Linked DNA regions of Homo sapiens: all the other regions are linked to region 1. The links are contacts of gene promoters, found by promoter capture Hi-C in blood cells and fetal thymus (Javierre and others, 2016). All regions are on one chromosome and are shown on one strand. The core of a region is centred on a gene start or on the middle of the fragment in contact, and the rest is flanking DNA. Distances in the headings are between cores, read along the strand shown. Region 1 holds the start of FAM83D (family with sequence similarity 83 member D). Region 2 overlaps RALGAPB (Ral GTPase activating protein non-catalytic subunit beta). Region 3 overlaps RALGAPB (Ral GTPase activating protein non-catalytic subunit beta). Region 4 overlaps ADIG (adipogenin). Region 5 overlaps ARHGAP40 (Rho GTPase activating protein 40). Region 6 overlaps ARHGAP40 (Rho GTPase activating protein 40).

Evidence for each region. The method cuts DNA at HindIII sites, captures the fragments that hold promoters and counts their contacts. A CHiCAGO score of 5 or more calls a contact.
Region 2: a contact is called between a fragment that was not itself captured here and the fragment with the promoter of FAM83D in region 1, in 2 of 17 cell types (total CD8 T cells and naive CD8 T cells). The highest score is 6.0, in total CD8 T cells.
Region 3: a fragment that was not itself captured here is called in contact with the fragment with the promoter of FAM83D in region 1 in 1 of 17 cell types (naive CD8 T cells); the score reaches 5.3 in naive CD8 T cells.
Region 4: a contact is called between a fragment that was not itself captured here and the fragment with the promoter of FAM83D in region 1, in 6 of 17 cell types (naive CD8 T cells, total CD4 T cells, activated CD4 T cells and 3 more). The highest score is 6.7, in naive CD8 T cells.
Region 5: a contact is called between a fragment that was not itself captured here and the fragment with the promoter of FAM83D in region 1, in 4 of 17 cell types (total B cells, total CD4 T cells, naive CD4 T cells and 1 more). The highest score is 6.6, in total B cells.
Region 6: a contact is called between a fragment that was not itself captured here and the fragment with the promoter of FAM83D in region 1, in 8 of 17 cell types (naive B cells, activated CD4 T cells, naive CD4 T cells and 5 more). The highest score is 10.8, in naive B cells.

The regions. Positions count from the first base shown.
Region 1 is chr20:38,924,281-38,928,656 of GRCh38, reverse strand. It overlaps FAM83D (family with sequence similarity 83 member D), which reads right to left and starts at 2,240. Exons shown (of 4, transcript NM_030919.3): 1 at 1,732-2,240. The coding sequence starts at 2,214. RefSeq lists enhancers at 578-667, 2,053-2,152 and a silencer at 2,263-2,622. The HindIII fragment of the contact is 27,857 bases long and covers 1-4,376 here.
Region 2 is chr20:38,533,951-38,538,326 of GRCh38, reverse strand. RALGAPB (Ral GTPase activating protein non-catalytic subunit beta) reads right to left here. Exons shown (of 30, transcript NM_020336.4): 16 at 3,120-3,253. It also overlaps the pseudogene RPS3P2. Among named protein-coding and RNA genes, the nearest start is that of MIR548O2, 20 kb to the right of the region's middle. The HindIII fragment of the contact is 3,425 bases long and covers 494-3,918 here.
Region 3 is chr20:38,563,381-38,567,756 of GRCh38, reverse strand. RALGAPB (Ral GTPase activating protein non-catalytic subunit beta) reads right to left here. Exons shown (of 30, transcript NM_020336.4): 25 at 2,279-2,398; 26 at 525-661. Among named protein-coding and RNA genes, the nearest start is that of ADIG, 16 kb to the left of the region's middle. RefSeq lists an enhancer at 2,383-2,883. The HindIII fragment of the contact is 2,897 bases long and covers 453-3,349 here.
Region 4 is chr20:38,584,347-38,588,722 of GRCh38, reverse strand. ADIG (adipogenin) reads right to left here. Exons shown (of 3, transcript NM_001393816.1): 2 at 2,562-2,694; 3 at 260-622. The coding sequence ends at 2,576. Among named protein-coding and RNA genes, the nearest start is that of ADIG, 5.3 kb to the right of the region's middle. The HindIII fragment of the contact is 224 bases long and covers 1,695-1,918 here.
Region 5 is chr20:38,605,116-38,609,491 of GRCh38, reverse strand. The region is part of intron 1 of ARHGAP40 (Rho GTPase activating protein 40); the gene reads right to left. Among named protein-coding and RNA genes, the nearest start is that of ARHGAP40, 5.5 kb to the right of the region's middle. RefSeq lists an enhancer at 709-1,209. The HindIII fragment of the contact is 7,117 bases long and covers 1-4,376 here.
Region 6 is chr20:38,621,603-38,625,978 of GRCh38, reverse strand. It overlaps ARHGAP40 (Rho GTPase activating protein 40), which reads right to left. Exons shown (of 15, transcript NM_001164431.3): 2 at 2,421-2,620. Among named protein-coding and RNA genes, the nearest start is that of ARHGAP40, 22 kb to the right of the region's middle. The HindIII fragment of the contact is 778 bases long and covers 1,959-2,736 here.

The sequences.
Region 1 (4,376 bases), core at 991-3,490:
TTTTGCTATCACTAAAATTTGGGGCTGGGCAAAAGACTAGAACAATCCACAGCTCTCACTATACAGACCAGTTCTTTACATTTTTCAGGTTCCAAGTGCTCAAGTTCTACTGGACATGAGCTTTGGGGATGCATACCTACACAAGTCTGCCTTTTCCATCTTTTTAATCTTTTCACTGAACCCGCAAGGAAAATGTCTGCTGCATCAAAAAACCCTCAGTCCACCCAAAGCACCTCAGGGCTGGTAAGAGCCTAGCTGCAGCCCACAACCACTCCCTCAAAGGCAAGGCACTAGGTCACTGTATCCACTACCACTGAAACCCCACCAGTCAGGGAAAGAACATTAAGAACATTGGTGAGAGTCGGGGCTTGGACATGTCAACCTGACAATGCACTGGTATCTTCACCCACACTCAGACACACTCAGGTACCAGCCCTAACAAGTCTTAACATGGCTGGGGCTTTATCTGCCATGTCCCTGGCACAGGCAGATAGCCAGGGAGCTGGGCACTGCCAGTCAGCAAGCAACCTGACCATGGCTCCAGACCAAGGTGTCTGCCACGACACTCTATGTGCCACACCCACCTGCAGGCTGCCTTCTTCCTCCTTGATCCCCAGCACCCTGCTGCAGCTTTATCGAGGCTGGCAAGCAGACAAGACCTCCATTGCACCCATGACCATGCCATACTAAGAGTCAGACAGTAGGACCAAAACCCACTATGAATACAGAAGCCGATCTAATGCAAATGTATCTGCATTTTAGGAGACCACTGCAATCTGGCACAGACCCAGCCTATGGAAAACAAACCCCTTGCCCCAGTTTCCCCTCCAGTCTCTGGCAGTAGAAAAAGCGGCAGGGGGCCGGGTGCGGTGGCTCACGCCTGTAATCCTAGCACTTTGGGAGGCCGAGGCGGGTGGATCACCTGAGGTCAGGAGTTCGAGACCAGCTTGGCCAACATGGAGAAACCCCGTCTCTACTAAAAATACAAAAATTAGCCGGGCGTGGTGGCGGGCACCGGTAATCCCAGCTACTTGGGAGGCTGAGGCAGGAGAGTCACTTGAACCCGGGGGACGGAGGTTGCAGTGAACTGAGATCCCACCACTTCACTCCAGCCTGGGCAAAAGAGAATCTGTCTCAAAAAAAAAAAAAAAAAAAAAAGACAAGAAAGAAAAAGCGGCAGGGCTCTCACTTTGCCACTCTCGTGTTTATCTGCTTTTTACAGCAAAAGATGCATGAAAGTAATTAGCAATAATAATTGCTTCCTAATGCCCCGTAGTTGTCTCTGGAGACCATCTTTCTGGAACTTTCCCTGCGTAAGTTCTTTGGTAATGAGTCTCCTAAGAAGCTCCTGAAAGTGGGATCTAGCGTTGGCTGACAGACAGGGAAATAGGCAATTTTCCAAGTTTGATTTTAACTGAAATTTGGAACTCAGAGTACTTCTGGTCCCTCCTTCAGGGATATGAACGTTAGGAGATGGAACCCGGGCACAATTCGCATCCTTGGGAACCGAGGCTTTCCCACTATCCCCTGCCACGAGGAGCGGCCCGGGGGATCCGGGGGAGACACGCAGAGTGGGGTGTGAGTCGGAGACCCTGGGACCACCTAGCCCGCGCGCGCTTCCGGTAGGGCGCAGAGGAGGTAGTGGCCCCGGCCCGTACTCCCAGCAGGCCTCAATTTCCCATTCTTGAAGGGGGTCTCCCGTGCGACCCAGGGCCCTGGAGGGCCGCTCACCTCTCGCGCCGAGCGGAGCTGCTGGCGCAGAGCGTCCTTGCAGCCGTAGGGGCCACCTTCGCCAGCGCCGCGGGGCTGGAAGTGCGTCTCGACACGCGTGGCGCCGCGGTAGGCGCCCTGGTAGAAGGCGGGCCAGCCAAGCTCCAACAGCGGTGGCTCCAGGTCCGACTGCTCGGGGAAGTAGGTGCCCGAAGAGCAGTCGTGCGAGGAGCCGAACGAGTCCTCGGCCGCCGCCGCCGCCGCCGCGCCCTCCTCTCCCGGCCTCTCCGCCGCGCGCAGAATGGCGTGCACCTCATCGGGGTTCAGGAAACGAGCCAGGCGCTCGCGTCGCAGGAAGGCCGCGAAGGCTTCGGGGCCGCCCGCCACCAGCTCCTCCAGAGCCAGGCGCCGTGACTCGCTGAACAGCTCGGTCGGGTTGGGCGGCCCGCACGGCGACAGGCAGGCGGCGGGCACCTCGTCCAGGCCCTCGGACAGCAGAGCCATGGCGGCGCTCGGACTCGACAGCCCTCGGACAAAAACCGGCGTGCAGTCCCGCTTTATAGGCAACCTTTGAATCAAACAGGCCCGCGCCATTGGCCGCACCTCCCCGCCTCGGCTCTCCCATTGGCTGCTTTCCTTCCAATAGCGGAGCGAGGCGGGGCGCAAGCCTCTACGGCTCCGCCCCCTGATGCGTTATTGGCTGCGATGCTGGGCTTGCTAAGAGGAATTTAAACTTGCAGGGGCGAGGCGGGCCGCAGAGCAGGGACAGAGCGGGGAGAGCCGAGCTCCTGGCCATCCCAGCGCGCCCCCTGCCGGTCGCCCCGCTGCGCGGCCGTGCAAGGCCAGGGACAGTCAGGCCTAGACAACGAGGAGAGGCAGGTGCCGACTCCCGGAGACTCTGGCCACGCTGCTCCTAGGCTCTCAGTGCTTTGGCATGGCCAACCATATCGCCTTTATCACCTGCCTTTAACCATGTATTCATTCATTCAAAGAATACCGGCTCATCGTATTAGGACTGCTCCTTTGATTACACCCTCGGGTAGTCTTCTCTCATTTCATCGATTTTTGCCTTGTAAAACCCCAACCAACCGTGGTTATACCCTACTTTCCACCTGCACCCCGGCAGCCCTACAGGGCTGAAGAAAAAACAAAAAGAGCGTAACCATGCTTACTGACTGGTCATGTTTTAAATTCATAATCCGTAAGACTGCCTGCTAGGAGGCCGGGCGCGGTGGCTCACGCCTGTAATCCCAGCACTTTAGGAGGCCGAGGAGGGCGGATCACCTAAGGTCAGGCGTTTGAGACTAGCCTGACCAACACGGTGAAACCCCGTCTCTACTAAAAATACAAAAATTAGCCAGGTGTCTTGGTGTACGCCTGTAATCCCAGATACTCGGGAGGCTGAGGCAGGAGAATCACTTGAACGCGGGAGGCGGATGTTGCAGTGAGTCGAGATAGCACCACTGCACTCCAGCCTGGGCGACAAGATCGAAACTCCATCTAAAAACAAAACAAAACAAAACAAAAGCAAACAAACAAAAAAACTGCCTGGTAGGCCGCATTTCCCTCATTCTCTCTACCTTTTCCTCTCTGACAGCTTGTCTTCCATGTCAGCAAGAACACAGAAACAGTAAGAAGGGAACGTCCACGTGCGGCCATCTAGTCTACCTTCCTGTCTGCATCTCTGCCCGTATACTGGGCATTGATGAACTGTGCCTGTGCCCATCCAACCCCAACCCCTCTGCCTGGGCATTTCCAGCCCCTCTACTACTCACCAGCATCGCTCCAGCAATCTTCTTCTTTCTCCTGGAACATCAGCTTCCCTCTTTACCGATTCATTTCTATCAGCCTACAAGCATGCTGAAATATTTTTCATCTTAAAACAACCCTCTCTTGACCCTACATTCCTCTAAAGCTCCCCATCTCACTTCTTATTTTTGCAGCATAGAATCTCAGATGTGGCTGGCCATGGTGACTTACACCTGTAATCCCAGCACTGTGGGAGGCCAAGGGAAGAGGATCACTTGAGCCCAGGAGTTTGAGACCAGCCTGGGCAGCATAGTGAGACCCTGTCTTTACAAAAAAATACAAAAGTTAGCTGGGCATGGTGGTGCGCCTAACTTTTAGTGCATGGCAGTGCTCATGATGGTCCCAGCCAGTGGGAAGGCTGAGGCAAGAGATCACTTGAGCCCAGGAGTTTGCAGCTGTAGTGAACTATGATCACACCACTGCACCCCAGCCTGGGTGACAGAGTAAGACCCTGTCTCAGAAAAAGAAAGAAAGAAAAGAAAAGAAAAGAAACCCTCAAACCAGTTGTCTATACTTGCTGTCTCCAGTTCCCTTCCAGCCCTCTTCAATCAGGCTAAAACCCCCACTGCTTTACCAAAACCTCTTGTCAGGTTCATCATGAGTTCCACAGAGCTAAATCCAACAGTCAATTTTCAGTCGTCATCTTTTTTATGTAAATGAAAAGTGGGTCATAAATGTGAGATGTTACCATTATTATTTAGCAACCAATAACCTTTTTAAATGGATGAATGCCTGCCGCTGTTGAGACGCCTCTCCCTCTCTACCTCTCCTCTCCCCATCCCCATCCCTTTGTGAAGTTTCTCAAGAATAAGTGTGGGGACTTCCATGTGTCCCTGCGCTGGTATCCAGGGTCCGGG
Region 2 (4,376 bases), core at 957-3,456, 390 kb after region 1:
GCCCAGGACGCATGAGCTTCACTTTGATGCCCAGCACACCCTGTCTTAGCAGCACATGGTGGATGGCAGTATCAATGCAGTAGTTAACAAGGTCTCTGCTGTGGATCATCAGATCACACACAAAAGTTCATGAATTCAGTTCTCTGTCCTTAGAGTTTCGCTGACACCATGACCTCGTAGCTCTTGCCCCACTCTCCATAATGAACCACAGCACACTACAGAAGGCTCTCCTCACAGCAAACCCTAATAGTAGTTTACAGCACAGACTCTGTCTGGGCAATGGCATAGAGAATTATTTTAGGCCACCTTTTCAGCATAAAGCTTTCCCTGCCCTCAAGGAAGCCAAACCTCTTCTGAACTATCTCAGCCAATTCATAGATCCGGTGGTTCTTTTCACCAAGAACACTCTGCATCCTGGAGGCTAAGGTAGTGATTTCTATCCTGGTTGGCATAACTTGGACCTCAGCTCCAGAGTAGTCACCTTCTGCAAGCTTCTGAGTGAAGAATTCGCTCAGTTTATTTCTGAAGATGCTATCAAACTTCCTCTTCTTAGAAATTTTCACCACCATATTGCTGCTGTGCACCACCAAAAGGAAAGGCTATTATTGAGTCCTGAGAGTTCTTTATGTAATCTGAATACAAATCTTTCATCAAATATATGCTTTATAAACATTTCCTCCCAGCCTGTGATCTGTCATCTCATTCTTTTAACAGTGTTTACTAAAGAACAGCAGTTTTAAATTTTGAAGTCCAACATATCAGTTTGTTCTTCTAGCGTAACACCTAAGAAATCTATCCCAAGGTCACAAAGATTTTCTCTTGTTTTCTTCTAGAAGTTTTATTGTTTAGGTTTTATATATATATTTTTATGTAATAGAGACAAAGTCTCACTATGTTGCCCAGACTGGTCTCTTCCTGCCTCAGCCTCCCAAAGTGCTGGGATTATAGGCATGAGTCACCATGCCCAGCCAGTTTGAGTTAATTTTTGTTCATAGTGCAAGGTATGAATCAAAATTTTTTGGCTTTTTTTTGTGTGTATGACTATCCAATTGTTTTATAGTACCTCTGGTTGAAAAGACCACCCTTTCTCCTTTGAATTACCTTTGCACCTTTGTCAAAAATCAGATGACCACTTAAGTATGGATATACTATTTTCTTCCACCGATCAATTTGTCCACCCCTATGCCAATACCAGGCTGTTGTGTTACTGTAGCCTTACAGTAAATCATCAAATCAGGTAGTGTTAGCCCTTTATGAATTGTTAGGCAGGTCCAGAGCAGTGCTCCATTTAGGACTAATTATTGCTTACTACTGAGTGTACTAAAGGTCACAGGAAACAGTACCTTGCTCTCAAAGACAGTGTGGTCCTGTATGTCTCACAAATGGCTGTTTTTTATTTTCTGTACCAGTAACTGCTTCTCGCAAAGTTATGATGTCCATCCTGGAGGATCTTTGAGGTAAGCTCTAAGTGGTGGTAAGAACACCTTAGGTTTTATTGCTTATTTTGTTTCTTACAGCTTAGGTAAGTCACAGCCTCTGACAACTATTCCCATAACTGAAAAATAAGGATTTGAACCATATCATCCCAGACAGTAGCACCTGGTTATCGGCTCTTTGTTCACAAAATATTTTACGTATTTCCTCAATTATATATTATATGTAAGATAATCCTGCTCATCTTACTGTCAAGAAAACACCTAGATGTTAGAGAAAATGCAAAGAAAGTGAAACTCTCATACACTGGGAATGTAAAATGATTCAGTCACTGTGAAAAACAGTTTGGCAGTTCCTCAAAAAGTTAAACATAGGGTTACCATATGACCCAGTAATTCTGCTCCTAGTGTACACCCGAAGAACTGAAAACTGGTATTCAAACAAATACATGTACATACATGTTCACAGCAGCACTACTGACAACAGCCTAGAGATTAAAACAACCCAAATGTCCATCAAGTGATAAATGGGTAAACTGGGGTATATACACACAATGAAATATTATCCAATCATAAAAGGGAATACAGTTCTGACACATTCTACAACATAAATGAAACTCAAAAACATTACATTTAGTGAAAGAAACCAGACACAAAAGGTCACACATTGTATGATTCCATTTATATGAAATGTCCAGTATAGGTAGACCCATTGAGATGAAATGGTGGTTGTCAGAGGAGGGGGTGCGGAGACTGAAGCAAAACTGCTTCATGGGTATGGGGTTTCCTTTAGGGATGATAAAAACATTTTGGAACTAGAAGTAGAAGTTGCTCAACATTGTGAATGTACCAACAGTCACTGAATTGTTTGCTTTTAAATGGCTAATTTTATATTACACAAATTTCATCTCAAAAGAATACACTTAGAGAAGCACAAATGACCACCAAGTTCTAAGTTTCCAAAAAACTGAAGTAACGGCTGGGAAAGAAATCTAAAAAGTGTAGCCAAGGCCAGGTGCAGTAGCTCACACCTGGAATCCTAGCACTTTGGGAGGCCAAGGCGGGTGGATCACCTGAGGTCAGAAGTTCGAGATCAGCCTGGCCAACATGGTGAAACCCCATCTCTACTAAAAACACAAAAATTAGCTGGCTGTGATGGCGTATGCCTGTAATCCCAGCTAGTTGGAGGCTGAGGCAGGGGGATTGCTTGGAAGCGGAGGCTGCAGTGCAACAAGTTTGCACGACTACGCTACAGACTGGGCGACAGAGCAAGACTCCGTCTCAAAAAAAAAAAAAAAAAGGTGTAGCCAGTTTTCACTTATCTCTGATAATGGAGGATGGCAGAGCCACAGGTAATCCCAAATGGCATACATTAGGATAATCATTTTTTACAAAATCAATATGCATTCTAGTATTATATGCAAATAAATAAATGGCAAGTATTGAAATGTTTCCTATAATTTAACGGTAAAAATCTCATTCATACTCTTTGAACCTATTTTTAAAAAGTAAAGTTCATTGCATAGAATATCACTTGGAGGCTAAATTTTGTACACTTTGGATATAATATAAACTATGTTTGAGCATGATCAACACTAAAATACCCACACAAGGGGTTAAGAGATACAGAAAAAACAGCCAAGGCCCAAGGCTGTTGGGTTAAAATAAAAGGACTGTCTTCCTCACCTTTGCAAGGCCAGAGAGGAGCTCTAGAGCTGCCAGTGATATGCTCATGTCTTGGCGCCACTGGGAGTTGAGTCTTTGGGTGACGAGATGAATGCTGCGAATCAGGAGCCCAGCAGCTGAATCTGTATTAAGAGCTAGGATATAACCCCAATGCCACATCCCACAGGGAGGGAAAACAACTAAGCATTAGTAACGAGAAGCACAGCATCCACTAGGCACAGACCACAGCAGCCACAGTGAGAACGACGGGCACCCACACAGTGCTACGCTCCCCACCCCACTGGGTTGAGTGCCAAGCCTGACTACACGGTGCACAGGCACATGTGCTAGACCAGAGCAGCTTCTAGTTCCTGGTTCACGCACTTTGACACAACCGTGGGATTTGGCAGTTTCAGTGTCATTTTCATAACAACGTAATTTAAAGTTTCTAAATTATCAACTCATAGCTACATTTTCAAAAAGAGTGATGAAAAGGCTATCAATTATTTCCTTGAAACTTTACAGAGGAAAGTTCTAATTTTACGGCCTCCTCAGATGCTAGGAATTACTCTGAAGCAAGCATCTGTTGAAATTACTTACAGGGTTTAAGCCATCAAAACTCACATGCAATGCCTTTTCAAACATACTTTAACATTTAATTCTCCAGGATTACTTTAATACTTCTAAAAAAATTAAATAACCAAGCCACCATATTTTTATTTGGGCTCCAATCTATATGTAAAAGCAATCACTAGTTAGCTAATAGGAAATTAGGAAAAATTAAATAAAGACAAATTAAACTGAATTTATAAAGGAAGCTTTAGGGACATTATACCTGTCGATCCTATCAGAAAGAGGGCAGTGACAACAGAAAAAGGAATGATCATTAAAGAGAGACACTCATGCGACACTAACACAAATCAGGATTTCTTAGTAAAAAATATTTTACGACATTACAAGCAGAGCTCACTAACACCAGCTCAAAATGCTGAAACAAACAATAATCACTTAAAACATTTATATTAGAACACATGCAGTAATGAAAAATTTCTTTTTTTGTTTTTGTTTTCTGTTTTTTTTTTTTTTTTTTGAGATGGAGTCTCGCTCTGTTGCCCAGGCTGGAGTACAGTGGCGCAATCTTGGCTCACTGCAACCTCTGCCTCCCAGGTTCAAGAGAGTCTCCTACCTTGGCCTCCAGAGTAACTGGGATTACAGGCACCCACCCCCACCCCCAGCTAATTTTTGTATTTTTAGTAGAGATGGGGTTTCACCACGTTG
Region 3 (4,376 bases), core at 652-3,151, 360 kb after region 1:
CTACACTTCTGACCTGATCACAGATAAAGTAACATTTGCTGATAAGGTAAGAAAAAAGATAAAGCAAAAAGCTCCTCTTGTAGTAGGTGCTGTGTTCCTCACTCAGAATATTTATCCATATACTGAGTTATTCTCCCTAATGTTCCTATTTTTATATGGTCAGACTTGTTTAAGATGAACATTGCAAGATTAAAGATAAAAAAACATGTAGTTACTGCAGTAACTTTAGTGGATATTTCAGGGACAAAATTAAAACCTAGGCTTAAAAAGGAACAGATGAGAGAATCAAGTACGGGACCAGAATGGTGAAATCAAGAGAAACCACAAAGGCTGTCTCAGAATGAACTATTTGTTACAGGCTGAAAAAGAGAAAATCGTGAGAATTTTATTTTAAAAAATTAAGTTACTAAGGAATCAGTACTCTGATATAAATACTCTCTGGGTTAAAAGCTTTTCAGGCAGGATTCTATAATTACCCTGATTTCACTACAAAATTTTGGAGACCTATCAACAAAGTAACTTACCCTCTGTGAGGAATTAAGATTGTCTGTATGATTGGGGAAAAGCTCAAGTGTCAGGGATGGCTGTTTCAGAATTCCTGGCATAAGATCCATATTTGAATCACTATCTTGGTCCGAGATGTTACTTTCCAATGAATCAGCTATGGGGTAAAGGAAAAAAAGCAACTATAATACATACCACTTATTTGGAGCAAGGCTGTTAAAACTAATTATGCTCACCAGTCTAACCTAAATCACTTAAACAAAGCATTGCTTCGAGAGCAAGGGCTGACAAACTTTTTTCTGTAAAGGATCAAGTACTAAGTATTTTAGGCTTTGCTGGCTATACAGATCTCTCGCATATTCTTCTTTATATTTTATTTATAACCCTTTAAGAATGTAAAACCCATTCTTGGCGGCATTTGGCTTGTGCCACTGTGGTTTGCCAGCTCCTGCTCTAAAGGATAACCAAAATAAGACTAGAAAATATTTGACGTTTCAGATGTAGAATATAATAAATGCCATTATTACTCTCTGAATTATTTAGATTATATATTCAATCATGTAGCATTGTGCCAAATAGGCACTGGGACATCCAGAAGCTACAGAAGATCTAGTCTCTGTGATTAAGAGCAATCTGGTTGGAGATAAGTACACAGAAAGTTATCCTCCACCCCATCCAAAAAAATCCCCAAATATCAGAAATAGGAGGAAGCTGAGTTGGAGTGGGCACAGTTGGCATAGGAGATGTTTCACAACAGGAGACAAAGACCCAATTGCAGGAGCTATAGAATAAGGACGAGGCTCTAGCTCTGGGAGGACTTGTCTGGTACTAACAGGCTGGGCCAGAGAAACCAGGCAGGTATGTCCCCAAAGAGGACGGACAGGTTCTGGCTTCTGGAATTATAAGTAGTAAACCAGAACCTTGACGGGAAGCCCAACAGCTGTTATAATTCAAACCTAAACCATGGAAGGTCCAACCTTCCAGGAACACAGCCGGCCCCAGAGAGTAAGACAGGGAGGGGCCTAGAGTGAGAAATCAAGGGTCCAAGTACAAAGGTTAGGCAGCTACCAAGGTAGGGCACAACAAAAGTCATTAGTCTGGAAATAAGACTGAAATCGTGATGTATAGTATCCCATCCTACAAATGATCTCAAAGAAGAAGGTGAAGTTTCCCACCTACTGCCAGACCACCTACTCGGTCAGGCATGAACAAACAGGCTTAATTTGCAAAGAGCAAAGGTTCTGGGCAAAATAAAACTGTGAGTTCAGACTAAGAAGTAATAATTACTCCCAATTCTTAAAAAGTCTTGGACCACCATCTTTTCTAGGCTGCTGAAGTTTCTCTTGCTCAGTGTTAGAAGAATGGCCATATGCTATCATGAGATACTTCCAGTTGTAGGATTCTAGGTGGTTCCATGCAAAGGCTCTCATATGGGAATAGAAAAGTAGGTGAGGGATCACTCGTAATTAGAGAAAGAAATGAACTGGAAAATAAGCCTATGTATTGATTAATTAGATTAAAGAAAGCAAAATATCAGTTGAAATGGGATTCCTTCACTATTTAAAGATTATTAGAGGGTCAGTCTGCTTGTCTTTAACTACTTTCCATAAAAAAGTTAAGAGAAGACATCTTGTGCTTCTGCATATTGTTATAATGCCTTAGAAGCTAAAGAATGCCTTAGATCACTTCAAAATCTCTTCCAATGCAGTAATATCACACAACCCAGGAATATAAAAATAGATCCTAAAACAGGACCATGCAAAAATCATCTTACTTAAGGACTCCACAGGAGAAGGAACCACAAAAGCAATTTCTGTAAGGGCATCAGCATAATACAGCACCTTCTTCTGTCCATTGAAAATGCTAGCTCCAATATCTTCAGAGGAAATCACTTCTTCTGGGAAAAAGAAACACTACATTACCGCTTCAAAAAGTAGGAAAAAACCAGTATCATCTTGCTACATGAAATGTTAACTGGTTAATAAAGTGATAAATAGAATATATGTTTTCAACAAGAACCAATTAGTATGAAAGAATAAAATATAATGCTTATTAGATGTCTTTATTTTTAAATAATAAAATCTTAATTTCATAATTTCTGAAACGACTGTATATCAGACCACTTCTGATTAGCAGGGCTTTTAATTCAAGTGTATGAAGCAGATTAAGGGAGCAGTCCTTTGGATCCAGTAAATAAATAATCAAAAGGAAGACCATCCCAGTCCCTCAGAAGGGAGTTGGGCCAGAGAGACAGGCAGGCAGGCAGGCAGGCAGAGAGAGAGAGAGAGAGACAGAGAGAGAGAGAGAGGGGGGAAGAGGAAGAAGAAGAAGAAGAAGAAGGGAGGAGGAGGAGGAAAAGAGGAGGAGGAAGAGGAGGAGGAGGGAGGAAGAGACAGAGAGAGAGAAGAAGAGAGAGAAGAGAGAGAGTGCACATGTGCGTTATCTCTGGACTCTTGCTTTTAAGGCATTTCTATCCCTGGTCTCTCTCTATGGCTCCTCAAGTTGGCCTATGTTCCACCTTCCTCAATGGTCAGTGACACTGTATAAAAATGTACAGCCAGTTTTAGTAATAGTATCTGCTCTAAGCCAGGAAGACTGAATTAACAAAAGAAACATTCATGAGAGCTATATAGTTCTCAATTAAAATGAACTCAGTGTCCTACTAGCAATACATAAAAGACCAACAATCGGACCAAAAATTGGAAAGGGGAAATGGACAAGTACTTCTCAGGGAATAAATAAAAATATGATAAGATATGCTCAACCATTATTAAAAATTAAAAATTTCTCACCGAAAAAATTGGAAGATACCTAATTCTGGTGAAGGTATGGCAAATAGGAAGCTTTAGACAAGAGGTTAGCAAACTTTTTCTGTAAAGGACCAGACAGATAACATTTTAGGCTTTGTAAGCCACAGGGTCTTTGCCACAACTACTCGATTCTGTCATTGTAGCATGAAAGCTGTCATAGACAATGTATAATCTAGAGTGTGACCGAGTTCCAATAAAACTTTATTTACAAAAACAGGGCTTTAGTTTTCTGACTCCTGGTGTGGGCTCCGGGCAGGCACTTTGTATTTGATGTAGTAGATGCTGTGGTTACTATCCCAATAGCCACTCTATCCACCCCTATTCTGCAGCAGGCAAAATGTGCAGGTGGGACTGACCTCTGATACTAGTTCTAGCTTGCCTGTATCTCTCTACCAGAGTCATTCTATCTTTCTTGCCATAAGGACAGGCTTGGGATAGTCTAATCGCCATATAGTTCCGGATTCGGGGAGTAGGGAGTTCTGAGATCTGGCTAATCTCTCCTCTTCAGGCTGCTGTGGTATGTGAATGTAAAGCCTGGAATTGCCTTTCTGCACTATTAGAGAAGCCAGGCTGGGGACAAAGCCAAAATATGGAGAGCAAAGCTAAAGGAAAATTGTAAAGAAATAAAACAGGAATGCTAATCAAATGACACCAAAAACTTAACCAACCTCTGGAATTTTTAGTTACATGGGCAATAAATTATCTTTAAAATCTAAGGCAGTTTGGGTCACGTTTTCTGATACTTGCAACCATAAGTATCCAACTGATATATTTATCAAAAGGAAAAATGTGCACTGGGCATAGGCATTATCCACTTTAGAGAGGTAACACTAACTTTCCAGTGACCTCAGGAGCCCAGGAACAGAAAGCATTAGCCAGGTGGGGCAAAGGTCTTAAGTTTAAGTTTATACTTGCTCTGCTACTTGTTATCCTGATTACAGTTCCTCAGAGGATCTGCGGGGATGGGCAAGAATCCTCAGAGATGGTCAGCTGTTTACTACAAAGGTTTTGGTATAATATCCCAAGAATATAACCTTTAAGTGTGACTGTTTTGATAGCCAC
Region 4 (4,376 bases), core at 557-3,056, 340 kb after region 1:
ATTCCTGCTCCTACCAAACTAGGCACTTGGTAGACACTCTGCAGCTATTTATCAAATATTTGTTATTAAGATCAGCCTGAAGTCCAATCAAGGAGCGAATTTGAAATCAGAGAATGGAAGTTCAGAGCAAGCCCCCCATCCCCATTGAACAGATGGAAGAGGGTTGGGCATTCCCAAGAAGGTCCTAGATGGCTTGAATCAGGGCCAGGGCTGAGTCTCGGACCTACGCTGGTTGAATGAATGACTTGGTCAGGCCTGGTAGGTTTGTCAGGGGTCCCCCGGGTATGGGAAGACCCTTGCTTCTTTAATATGGACCCACACCCTCCGGCCCAGCCCTGCTTTAAGACCCCTCTGAATTAAATTGGCCAATTTCTCCCCATGGGCCTGCTCACTGCTCCCATGCCCTCCCAGACTTGAGCGGCTCCCTGCAGGGCTGGAGGTCATCTGTGATGCTGGAGAAGGGCTGGGACCTCTGGAGGCTTTCACATGTCGGTCTGAAGAGGAGATGAGTTGGGGGTTCCAGGGAGGCACCACAGTTGCCAAAGTCCTCTTGCCTCCCTGGCAAGTCTCTCCCATCCACTTCTGCCATTGCCACTGCCCTGCTGACTCCAGGAAAACCAAACTAGAAACAAAAGGAAGGTTGGGACTAGGGATGCCATTGGGATGAGAAAAAAGAGGTGGGTAAGGCCAGACGTGGTGGTTCATGCCTGTAATCCCAGCACTTTGGGAAGCCGAGGCAGGTGGATCATCTAAGGTCAGGAGTTCAAGACCAGCCTGACCAATATGGTGAAACCTTGTCTCTACTACAAATAGAAAAATTAGCCGGGCGTGATGGCATGTGCCTGTAATCCCAGCTACTCGGGAGGATAAGACAGGAGAATTGCTTGAACTGGGGAGGAAGAAGTTGCAGTAAACTGAGATTGCGCTACTGCACTCCAGCCTGGGGAACAGAGAAAGACTCCGTCTCAAAAAAAAAAAAAAAGGGAAAAAAGAAAGAAAGAGGTGGGTAAGTGATGGGGGTGGGAAGGGAAGGGCTATGCATAAATGGGATAGGGTTCTTGTGCAGCGTCCGAAAATCTTTTCTCATGCCACAAATTATATAAAAACAGATCAAGCTACATAATTCGCAGGGCCCAATAGCAAATTAACACGTGGGGCCCCTTGTTCAAAAATTAAGAATTTCAAGACAGCAATAGCCAAGCATGAAACCAAGCCTGGGACCTTGTGGGACTGCAGGTTACACACCTGTGGAGCTGGCCCCGTACACAAATCTCTGAGGGCATTCATAGGAGGAGTTTTCCTGGGAAAAGGGCCCTCAGTGGTCAAGGTGGGACCCAAAAGGCTAAAAAATCATTACAACTTAGGTTAAGTGAGGGGCCCTCCTTTTCACCACCTCCTCCCTCCACTCAGACAGGGTCGGGGGCTAGTGAACACACTGCATGAACCAACTTCAGAGTAGGGCAGAGAAAGGCGGACACGTGAGAGATGGAGATTAGAGTTGGGAGAGAGAGGCGAGAGGCTGGCTCCCGGGTTCGTGACTCGGGCAACAGAATCAATCCACAGTGGTGCTATTCATGGAGATGAAGAAAAGCTAGCAGAAGATCAGGGTGCTGTTTTGCTTGGCTGGGTGACAATGGGAATCAAGATTCCTATTCTAGGCATGAGAGGGTGTCAAGCAGACAGATAATAAAGCTTGGGAGGAGATTAGATGAGACACACACATTTTGGGGCCATTGGTATAGAGATGGCATCTAACCCCACTGGAATGGCTGAGGTCTCCTAGGAATTCAATGGGTGCAAGGGCCTTTGGGTACAGCATCTGATTGCCCTGACACCTCACATGAGAGTATGTGTGTGTGCCTCATTTGTAAATGGAGGTGAGAATCATATCCTCATCATAGGATTTCATAAGTAAGCTTGTGGAAGGGGAACGGTTCAGACAGGCCTTGGTACCTATTGAGCCCCCAAGGATACCAGCCATTGTAATAATAATAATAATAATATCATGTCATCCTTCCACAAACATGTATTGAGCCTCTAGCATGTGTCTGGCAGTATTTTGGGGCTTTGGATGCAGCCACGATCAAACGTGTTAGAAGGCGGTAAGTACTACAGTGAAAGGAAAGCAGAGCAGGGTAAGCAGCACGATGCGGAGGATAGGGTGGGGGCTTCAATATCGAATAGGGTGGCCAGTGGGACTCTGCTGAAAAAGTGACATTAGAGCAAGCCCTCAGAGGGGAGGGAGTGCCCCACGCAGACGTCTGAGGGAACAGCTGGCCAAAGACCATCAGGAAAGTGGTGGGGGGTGAGGCCCTAGGGTAAAGGGTAGGGGACCTTTGTAAAGGCTCCTTGTGGCACAGGGGGCTGGCCCTTTAACAGGGCAACACCAGGTCTCCCCCACAATGAAGCAGAAGGCTCTCACATGCTGGAGAGAACCCGTCATCCAGCATGGCCAGGGAGCATACCTCTAATATGGTGGAGGCAGCCTCTTGCCCACATAGCAGCTGCCCAAGGCTTTGGGTGGGCCTTGAGGCTCCCCCTGGCCCCTGGAAGGGCCTCACCTGGCACAGCAGGCTCACCAGCAGGGCCTCTCCTTCTCTTGGCCGTGGAGTGTCCCCTTCCAGCAAAACTCAGCTGGGCCTTTGCTCCAGGGCTCCCAATCCAAGCACACACTGGAGTCATTTTCCTCTGAATCTGTGGAGATACGAGGCAAGGCCTCTTGGATGGTCACATCCTGTCTCCTACCCCTGACCCAGGAAGGAGTCCCCTGCCAGGCCTGGGTATCCCTGCAGCCTTGCCTGAGGCTAGGGCCAAGGCAGAATCCTATGAGCCAGCCTTGAGGCCTCAGGAAGACTTCAGGGCCTTAAAGGGTGACCAGGGACCAAGAAAGAAGGCTGCTCCTGTGACTTGGAAAATGGCCGTATCTAGAGGGGAGGACACAGAGGTGAGCAAATGACATACTGTACTGGACATGGTCCAGGAAGAGGCAGTGAAGAGACACAGTTATTGACCCATCCAGGCCACTAGTCCACTAGTTCATTCATTAACAAACATCTGAGTACAAAGGCACAATGATCTCCACTGTAGCCCTGTTTTGTGATGAAACACGCACACACGAACAATAAAACACCTGGAAACTGTGTCCACGTCCACAGATCACGAGAGATCTGGGTGACTAAGCTGTGGGAGAGTCACACCACATGGAGACCCGGACCCTCCGTCTGATGGCTTGTCATGAAGCTGTTAAAATGTTTGCATCATATCTGTATCTTCTGACTTGCAGAATATCTACGGTATATTATAAGCAAATTAAAAAGAAATGTAGGATCTTTTTGTTTTGAAAAGCAAATGCTGCACCATTCCCCAATTTGTTTTGAAAACCTGCACACGTTAATGAGTTTGCTAACAGACTCATCTTGGGGAGGTAGGGTGAGAAAAAAAGAGGGATGGGGAAGATTATTTTTCTTACTAAACTCTTGCATTGTTTCACTAGTTGCAGAGAAGTAACAAAGGTTTTTGTACAATGGGCATAATATCAGCATCTTCTAGGATGAGGGTTAACCGAAGGCAGACATGTAAAACTCAGCACAGGACTTAGCACAGGCCTTCAACAGTGTTGGCAGTTAGTATGTCTTAAAAGTCAGTAGGGGCCGGGCACAGTGGCTCACGCCTGTAATCCCAGCACTTTGGGAGGCCAAGGCGGGTGACCATGAGATCAAGAGATCGAGACCATCCTGGCCAACATGGCGAAACCCCGTCTCTACTAAAAGTACAAAAATTAGCTGGGCGTGGTGGTGCGCACCTGTAGTCCCAGCTGCTCAGGAGGTTGAGGCAGGAGAATCGCTTGAACCAGGGAGTCGGAGGTTGCAGTGAGCCGAGATCGCGCCACTGCACTCCAACCTGGTGACAGAGCGAGACTCCGTCTCAAAAAAAAAAAAAGTCAGTAGGATAGCGTGAAGTGACTGTTCTTCACTAGAGAGAGTATTTTTTGAACATAGAGTATGTGCAAAGTGTTGTTACATTCATTTTCTCATCTGATCCTCTTAACACCTTCCTGAAGTCAATTACTAGTATTTTTTGTACTTTACAGATGAGGATGGTGAAATCACTTGTCCAGGCTCACAGCCAGGGAGTGGTGCTACTGGATGCAAATTCAGCCTCCCCACTCCACGGTTCCATTGGGTGTGTTTGGACTCAGAGGATTTAAAGGCAGCTTTGAATTGAACATCTTGCTCCAAGACCCACCATGAGGGGTTGTTGCGCCACTCTTCTGTTTCAGCCCCAAACCCATCTCTTTGGAGGTTTCCCTTCATCCTTCTGCAAACTCCTTTCAAATCGCAAAAGGAAAATGCCGGCAGCAGGGCATCTTCCCCTTG
Region 5 (4,376 bases), core at 1,113-3,612, 320 kb after region 1:
CTCCCAAAACAGAGCAGATATTGATAAATATTTGAAGGATTAATAAACTTAACCCAGTGGTTCTCAAAGTGTGGGCCCCAGACCTTCAGTATCAGCATCAGTTGGGAGCCTGTTAGGAGTGCACATTTTCAGCCCTCGCCTCAGAACTACAGAATTAGAAACTCTGGGGGTGGGGTGCAGCAATCTGTGTTTGCACAAGCCTTCCAGGTGACTCCAAGGCACTGATCTAAGCCCCAGGTTGGAGGGAGGCAGGATGACTCCTGAGGGTGGAGGCAGGGGACTGAAGTTTGGAAAAGCAATATGGAAGGGTGACTGCGGGTAGGCAGAATAACCCCCCCACTACCCACTACTCCCTGGAATCTGTAAATGTGTGTGTTACATGGCAAAGGTGGGATGAAGGTTGCAGATGGAATTACAGTTGCTAATCAGCTGATTTTGGGGAGATTATTCTGGGTTGCCTGAGTGGGCCCAATGAAACCACTAAGGTCCTTAAATGGGGAAGAGGGAGGCAGAAGAGTGAAAACCAGAGAGATGGTAGCATGAGAAGGACTCAGCCGGCCACTCTTGCCTTTGCAGATGCAGGTGGACCGCAACTTAAGGAAGGCAGGTGGCTTCTTGAAGCTAGAAAATTGATTGTCCCCGAGAGCCTCCAGAAAGGATCACAGTCCTACCGACACCTTGATTTTTAGACCAGTAAGACCCATTTTGGACTTCTGACCTCCAGAACTCTAAGATAATACCTTTGTATTGTTTCAGCCACTAAATTTGTGGCCCTTTTTCACCGCCCCAACGGCCCAAATTAGGGCCACTAAATTTGTGGCCCTAAGTCACCTTAGCCACTATAGTGGCTAAGGACCAAGGCCCTGAAGTCACACTGTCTGGGCCTAGGTCTGTCCTCTTGATGTGCGGCCTATAAAATCAGGGTGATTGTGTGATAGTATACAGAAGGCAGTGAGGATGAAATAAAGTAAGGCCTGTAAAACATTCAGCCCATAGTAAGTACTCCAAAAACATGAAAACACAAGGCTGCCTTCCGACCAACGAGCAGCCAGCAGCCAACAGTCCTCTTAAGATGGGGCAAACAGCCCGAGGGGACAGAGTAGTAACTAGAGAACAAAAGGGGGAGTGGGCTGAGAAGAGGCTTCCTGGAGGAGGTGGTGTTGAAACTCAGTTTTAAAGAAACAAGTCAGTGAATGTCTGGGAGGAAATGAGATATGCAAATCTCCCAGGAAGGGGAGCAGGTCTTTATGCTGGGAAGTGCAAAGTTTTCCCTGGGTGGATAGAAGTCTGTATTAGGGTTTAATGAGAACAAAGTCAGTAAGAAATAAATGGTAGTGCAGAACAACTCTCCAAACAAATTAAAATCCAGAAGCCATAACAGAAGAAAGCTGAGTTGATTACATCAAGACTTAAAACTTTTGTATGACAAAAGACACTATAAAAAATGTCATAGGACCTTTTTCCTCAACTGAGAGGAAATATCTGCAACAAATGATAAAGTGTTACTATTCAGTCTATATATATAAAGAGTTCCTGGAAAGCAACAAGAAAAAAAATACCCAAAAAATCTACTGGGAAAGTTGGCAGCAGATAGAAATCCACAAGTCACAGGAGATAAAATGCAAATGCCCTATGTGAAAAGATGTGGAGCCTCGCAAGTAATCAGGGCAATGCGAAATAAAACAAGGATGAACTCTATCAGATTGGCAAACACAGAAAAGATTGCCAACACTCAGTACTGGCAAGTATCGAGAAAAGACCTTCTCACACTTGGATGAGCATCTGCTGGTCAATTTGGGAAGAGTCGGTGACGCCTGACAGGAGGGGAGGTGGAGAAGCGGCCTCCACATTGCAGGCAGGGTGAGGACCCCAGGGTTGTGAAGGGCGGCAGCCTAACTGCTTGGTGTAATTAACACCTTCACCTCTGCTTCATTGTGAGAAAAGAGGGAAAATAGGAAGCTCCATCCGAAGGGACCTGCCCTTCGCTGGTTTGTAAGCAGGATCTGAGGAGGCCCCTCCTGCTGGAGAGCCCTGGAGGAAAGTGGTTTGCAAGGACTTTTTCCTGCAAAGCTGGTCAGAAGCCCCCAGCGGCAGCCTGGTCCCCTGAGCTGCGGATCTGAGGTGGCCGTTCCGGGTTTCGAACCAGGAGGATGTGTGAGTGTGAACGGCAGCCACTATCTGAATGGCACTGATTCCACAAATGAAGGATCAGGCCCAGAGAAATGAAGGAACTTTCCCAATGATGAGTGGAGGATTTAGGACTCAAATGCAAATTTTTCTGCTATGCCAAGGAGTCAGGAGTCCCGAATGTACTTGTCCCATGAAAACAAGCCTGTGCTATTTGGAGTCAGCTCCAAGAACTTGCCCTTTGACCACTGATATCTGACACAAATTGTCCCATTTCTAAATGGTGGGCACTGTACTAAGCCCTCACATGCATTAATGTCATTTTATCCTCACAACAAGTCTATGAAGCAGGTACCGCTGTTCACAACCATTTTACAGAAAAGGAACCAAGGCTCAGAAAGGTTAAGTAACTTCCCCAGAGGTCCACAGCTGATAAGTGGTGAAGCTGGGCTTTCAGATTCAGGCTGTCCTTCTACCCCTGACATATTTAAACCATGTGTAGGTGATTTATTCAGTGGTTGCGTTCACATACAAGGGGGTGTGTCTGGAGAGATCAGTTGACATTGACCCCAGTGGCAGAGACTTGAGCTACACATGAGCAAAATATGAGTGAAGGTGAACCTTGTAAAGGTGATTGATTCTACAAGCTATCTGTGTGCAATCAGCCAAGTCATTTAACCCATTATTGATTAAGGAAATCTGGCTGGTGCACTAGACTCAAAATGGGTCTTTCTGCCTCTCTGATCTGCCTTTGAACTCTGCCAGACACTGAGCATGTGAAAAGATGCTCAGCCTCACTAATAATAATAAAAAGGGCAAATTAAAACAAGAGACAGGTTTCTCCCAATCCAATTAGCCAAGACTAAAAATGAACAATAATGTCTGGTCAAGAATGTCATGTATATTAGGAAACAAGCTCACACCCACTTGGTGAGTCTAATTGGGTACAACCTTCCTGGAAAACCACCCAGAATATGTTTCAGAATTTTAAATGTATACACCTTTGGACTCCATGATTCCTATTCTGAAAATGTATCATAAGTACACAAAGATATATGTCCAAGAACATTGCAGTATAGTTTATAATAGCAACCAAAAGAGAAAAAGAAGCAACCTAAAATTCCATCAACAGGAGGCTAGTTAACAAAAGTACTGTCCAGTCATAAAATGAAACATCACACAGTCTTTAAAGAGGATAACGTAAGGGCAGGTGTGGTGGCACATGCCTGTAGTCCCACCTACTTGGGAGGCTGAGGCAGGAGGATTGCTTGAGTCCAGGAGTTTGAGACAAGCCTGAGCAACATAGGGAGACCCTGTCTCTACAAAAATGAAAAAAATAGCTAGGCGTGGTGGTGCATGCCTGTGGTCCCAGGATCACTTGAGCCTGGGAGGTTGAGGCTGCAGTGATTCCACCACTGCACTCCAGCCTCAGCCTGGTCAATAGAGCAAGACTCTGTCTCCAAAAGAAAAAAAAAGAATAATGTTGATTTCTATGTCTTTCCAGGAAAAGATATTATAAAGATGGAAATGTCATTTATAAAATAGTATACATAATACAAACCAATTCACGTATGTAAGTACAATTATGTGCATGGATTGGATCATAGATACATTTTACGTATACATGTATGTAAATATTTATGAAGCACAAAATCCTATAGGATGTACACTTAACTTCTCACAATTGCTGTTCTTGTGGGTTGGAGGTGGGAGGGGCAGGTGGATTTCACTTGCTACTTTTTTTGCATTTTTATACCAATCATGAATTAACAGAAAATATATTTCTACAGGGAGCAAGGATAAGGGGAATCCCAACAGAGTCACCTCACTCCAACTGGGTCTTTGAGGCACCTCCCAAGGCCAATATTGCATGGTTTTAAGATGAAGTCCACATAGACAGTGAATTCGGTGTCCCCCTCACATTATGGGATGTTCTGTTTGATGACAACATTGACTCTATTCATCCCTGCTCAGGCCTTTCAGGTCAGCATTTAGTGTATTATGTGGTAGTGACCAGTGTTATGTCTTCCTCCTGGACCAGCCTGTGGACATCTTAAGGGCTGAGAGAGCATCTTATTCATGCCCACACCCTCATATCCATCACAGGACTTCATGTAGAGGCAGTGAGCATTTCATTCATCAGGGAAATATTTCATGAACACCTACAACAAGCCAGCCCTGTGCCAGTGCTGGAGAGCTGTGGGTAAACAGAACAGATCCGGGCTTACATCCTGAAGGTTGCCGTCCTG
Region 6 (4,376 bases), core at 1,098-3,597, 300 kb after region 1:
TTTCTTGAAATGTAGGCATTCACCAACCACCTTTATAATTTTTATCTGTATCTAATTGTCCCTGTAAAATTCCTTACCAAATATATCCCCTTAATCATGGGCTACATTTTTTACTAAAACACATCTATTTTAAAAGGAAACAAGATCCCCACCATAAATGGAGCATCCAACATCACCTGCCATGAGTAGACATTGATGGGAAAAATAAATTATTAACAATCCCTCTGGTTCAAGTTGGTGTCCGAATAAAAAGAAAAGATGACCAGGCATGGTGGCTCATGCCTGTAATCCCAGCACTTTGGGAGGCCAAGGTGGGCAGATCACCTGAGATCAGGATTTCAAGACCAGCCCGGCCAACATGGCGAAACCCCATCTCTACTAAAAATACGAAAATTAGACGGGTGTGGTGGTGAATGCCAGTAGTCCCAACTACTTGGGAGGCTGAGGCAGGAGAATCGCTTGAACCCAGGAGATGGAGGTTGCAGTGGGCTGAGATTGTGCCACTGCACCCCAGTCTGGGTGACAGAGTGAAACTCCGTTTCAAAAATTAAATAAATAAATAAAAAGAAAAGAAAGGAAAAAAAAAAACCAGTCTTGGCTCCATGCCACTCAGGATCCCTCAGCCCTGTGAGTCTAAAAAAGCTCCTGTGTTTATTTGGTTGCTCAAAGTGGCTTCTCTCTGACCCACTCTGACTCCACTCCCTGTGTATTGTGGGAAATTAGATTGCTGGCCACATCATGATTCCAGAGAGGCCACATGGAGGACCTCCTATGCAGGGCATCTCCTGAAACCACTTCTAGTGTAACCAGGGATGTTTTTACATTTACACTTGGAGGCACTGCATGAGACTATTAGGCCCTTAGGAGGTCTGCATCACCACGTGGTCTGTTTTGCCAACCAGGGGCAAGCCCAGCTGAATTACATGCCAAACCAGGAAGGGTTCCATGTGGAGCCCTTTCATTCCCTCATCTGCTGAACAAGTAAGGATGGAGGAGGGGAATGTGCTTGGCTCTGTTCTAGGCACTGTGGACACAGCAGTGAAAAGGGCCGATGATGTCCCTGGCCTCATGGAAGTTACATTCTAGTGGGGGTCACAGACACATGCACAGTGAAGTGCACTAGGTAAAGTCAGGCAGTGATCATTGCTGCAGCAACGAACAGAGTAGGGCAGGGGCTAGAGAGTGATGGGGCAGGGGTGCTATTTTGTGTAGGGAAGCTGGTGAAGACCTCTCTGAGGAGGTAACATTTGAGCCCAGTCCTGACTGGAGAGAACAAGCCATGCAGATGCCTGGGGCAAGAGCATTTGAGGCCAAGGGAGCAGAGAGAACCAAAGGACTTGAGGCAGGAAAGTGCTTTTAGGGTCAAGGACCAGCAAGGAGGCCCGAGGACAGAAGTAGAGTGACAGCCAGTCAGGGTGGGAGGAGAAGAGGCAGAGAGGAGGCACGAAGCCAATTATGTAAAGCCTGGTAAGTTATGATCTGGTGGCTTTATTACACGTCCCCAAATTCTTTGACTCTCACCCCATCAAGGGGTGGAGTCTAATTCCCCTCCCCTTGAACATAGCTGCATGCAGGGTAACAGAATGCAGCAGAAGCAATGTTGTCTTTCTTCTAAAGCTGGGTCATAAGCAGCAAGACAGCTTCTACCCAGCTCTCTCTCTTGGTCTTGTGCTTGGAACCCAGCCGCCATGCTGTGAGGAAGCCCAGGCCACATGTGGAGGCCTCATGCAGGTATTCCAGATGATAATCCCAGATGAGGCCCCCTGATGGTCACATCCACCACCAGGCACATAGATGAGAAATCTTTTGAGATGAGTCCAGCCCCAGCTACCATTTGATTGTAACTGCATGAGAGGCCCTGAGCAAGAACCACCTAGCTGAGCCCACTCAACCCCTCCAACAGTGAGGTATAGTAATAGTCATAATAATTGATTATTGCTGCATTATGCTTCTAAGCTTGAGGTGGTTTGTTACATAGTAGTAGATAATAGGGACACATAATTGTCTATTACTCTGAGATAGATGGAGAGATATTTGAGGATTTAGAGCAGAGGGCTTAGAATTTCCCTAGAACATTAGGTCTGTATATAGGAGACTGTTTTGTGTTCACTGTTGTATCCCCAGTGCCTAAACAGTGCCTGGCACATAATAGGCACTCAAAAAATATTTCCTGAAGGACTTACTCTAAGGAGGGACATAATCTAATTTACATTACTAAAAGATCGTCTTGACTATGGCATGGAGAACAGACAGTAAGGATCACGGGTGAAGCAGGGAGAGCAGTGAAGAGGATACTGCACCAGTCCAGGCAACAGAGAAAATGCTGTCATGTTCTGGTTCATATCTGGATCCTCTGACATTTCTCTGCCTGGAATCAAGCCCTCCCACCACCCCTATAGGCCCCCGCCAGGGTCTCTCACCCTCTGGAAGCTGGCCTTCATTCCCGCCACTGTCCTCTTCCCTCAGCTCATCTCTCTGTTGGATCTGTTCCACCTCCATCCAAAAGCCATCCATGCTGGAGCTCTCCACTCCAGTGGAACAGCCAGCAGAGCCAGCAGGGTGTAGTCGCAGGAGATTCTTCTGGGGAAGCTGATCCATTCGGCCTGAGGAGGGGCCAGAGCTGTAGCAAGTGGGGAAGGTGCAGGGAGGTCAGCAAGTCTCTGCTTATGATGGGGGTTGTGCTGAGGCTTGTGGCTCTCCAGAAATCAGCCTGGGCCCCTGGGGGCTAAGCAAGCTTCCTAGGCATGTTTCTCAGGGTGATCTCAGCAAATTGACTGGTGACCCATCACCCCTGCGGGATCCTTGGAAACCAGCAATGCTGCAGGGGACAGAGCAGGGCCAGACTGCTCTGCTTGCTTCCACCTTCTTGGTCAAGGCTAACAGTCTTGGACATACCTACGGTAAAGGCAGCATTCCCAAGAGGGGATTAAACACCAGGACAGGCGAGGAAATGACAGGGCAGTGTCTCGTGGATCTCACTGAATTTTTACCCAGAAAGTCTCCTGTCTCCTTCCCTCACACTTCCTCCTTTGTGAGTCTGGCTGCCAAGCCCTGGGTCTCCTGTTTGTATCACAGGAGCACCTCATCTCCTCCCCTCTCCCAGCCAGCTTTGAACAGAGCAGGTACCTGATCACAGAGGTGCTATACATCACTGAGCCAATCTCATTCTCTCAAGGTGTTGAACCAAGGGCAGAGGGGTCAGTATCAGGCACGTGAACTGGAAGCTGTGTGGGGCTGGAGTGGCCAGTCTTCCAAAAGAAGCAGAGAGGAGACCCTCTGCAGGCATGGAGGGATGTGGGGTAACCTAAGCTTGATTTTCCAGGTCCCAGTTGCAGCCTTTCATGATCCAGGCTATGTGGTTTACCCCTAGAGCCCTGACTCCCACATCCTTCCCTTTAATCCCCCTCTTCTTCCCAAGCTACACTCAATGAATTTCTGCTTCATGCAATCAAAGAATCTCAGGGTAAGACAGTGCAAGTCTCCTGGTCCATATAAATGAAGTCCAGGACTTCAGATGAGCTTAGGGACAAAATGTCCCTGTTGCTGGCCCAAATCCTTGAGAAATGGTAGGGTTGGTCATAATGGCAAAAATACTAGACTGGAATCACCTAGACCCTGACACATGCCAGCAAATAGACCATAAACTACCCCTGCCAGAAGAGAGGGAAGAAATCCATTTCCCCAGTTTCCTCAAGTGGGAAAAATGTATATTCTGCAAGTTCTATAGATATTTAAGCTCCCATGTGGAAACCAACAAAAGGCAAAGAAAACCAATAAACATAGGTGGTTTGAACTGCCCTATTAAAAAACAAGACTCATTTGGATTAAAAAGGAAAAGTCATCCACATGCTGCCTTTTTAAAAAAAAAATATATATATATGTGCTTTTCTGTTTTTGTTTGTTTGTTTGTTTGTTTTTGTTTTTTGAGGCAAGGTCTGGTTCTATGGCCCAGGCTGGAGTGCAGTGGTGCGATATGACTCACGGCAACCTCCGCCTCCCAGGCTCAAGCCATCCTCCCACCTCAGACTCCTGAGTAGCTGGGACTACAGGCACACATGACCATGCCTGGCTAATTTTTGCATTTTTTGTAGAGACAGGGTTTTTGCCATGTTACCCAGGCTGTTCTCGAACTCCTGGGCTCAAGCAATCCGCCTGCCTTGGCCTCCTAAAGTACTGGGATTACAGGAATGAGCCATTGAGCCCGGCCTTAAAACATTTTTGTTAGCTATATTTTCCCTTATAAAATCAATATGCAGTTATTGTAAAAATTCCCAGCAATGCAGAAGTGAGCAAAGTAGAATATCAATCATTCTCCTGTGGCTACGACCACGTTTTCCATGCTAACACTTTGGTGTGCAGACATCTCATGTTTCTCC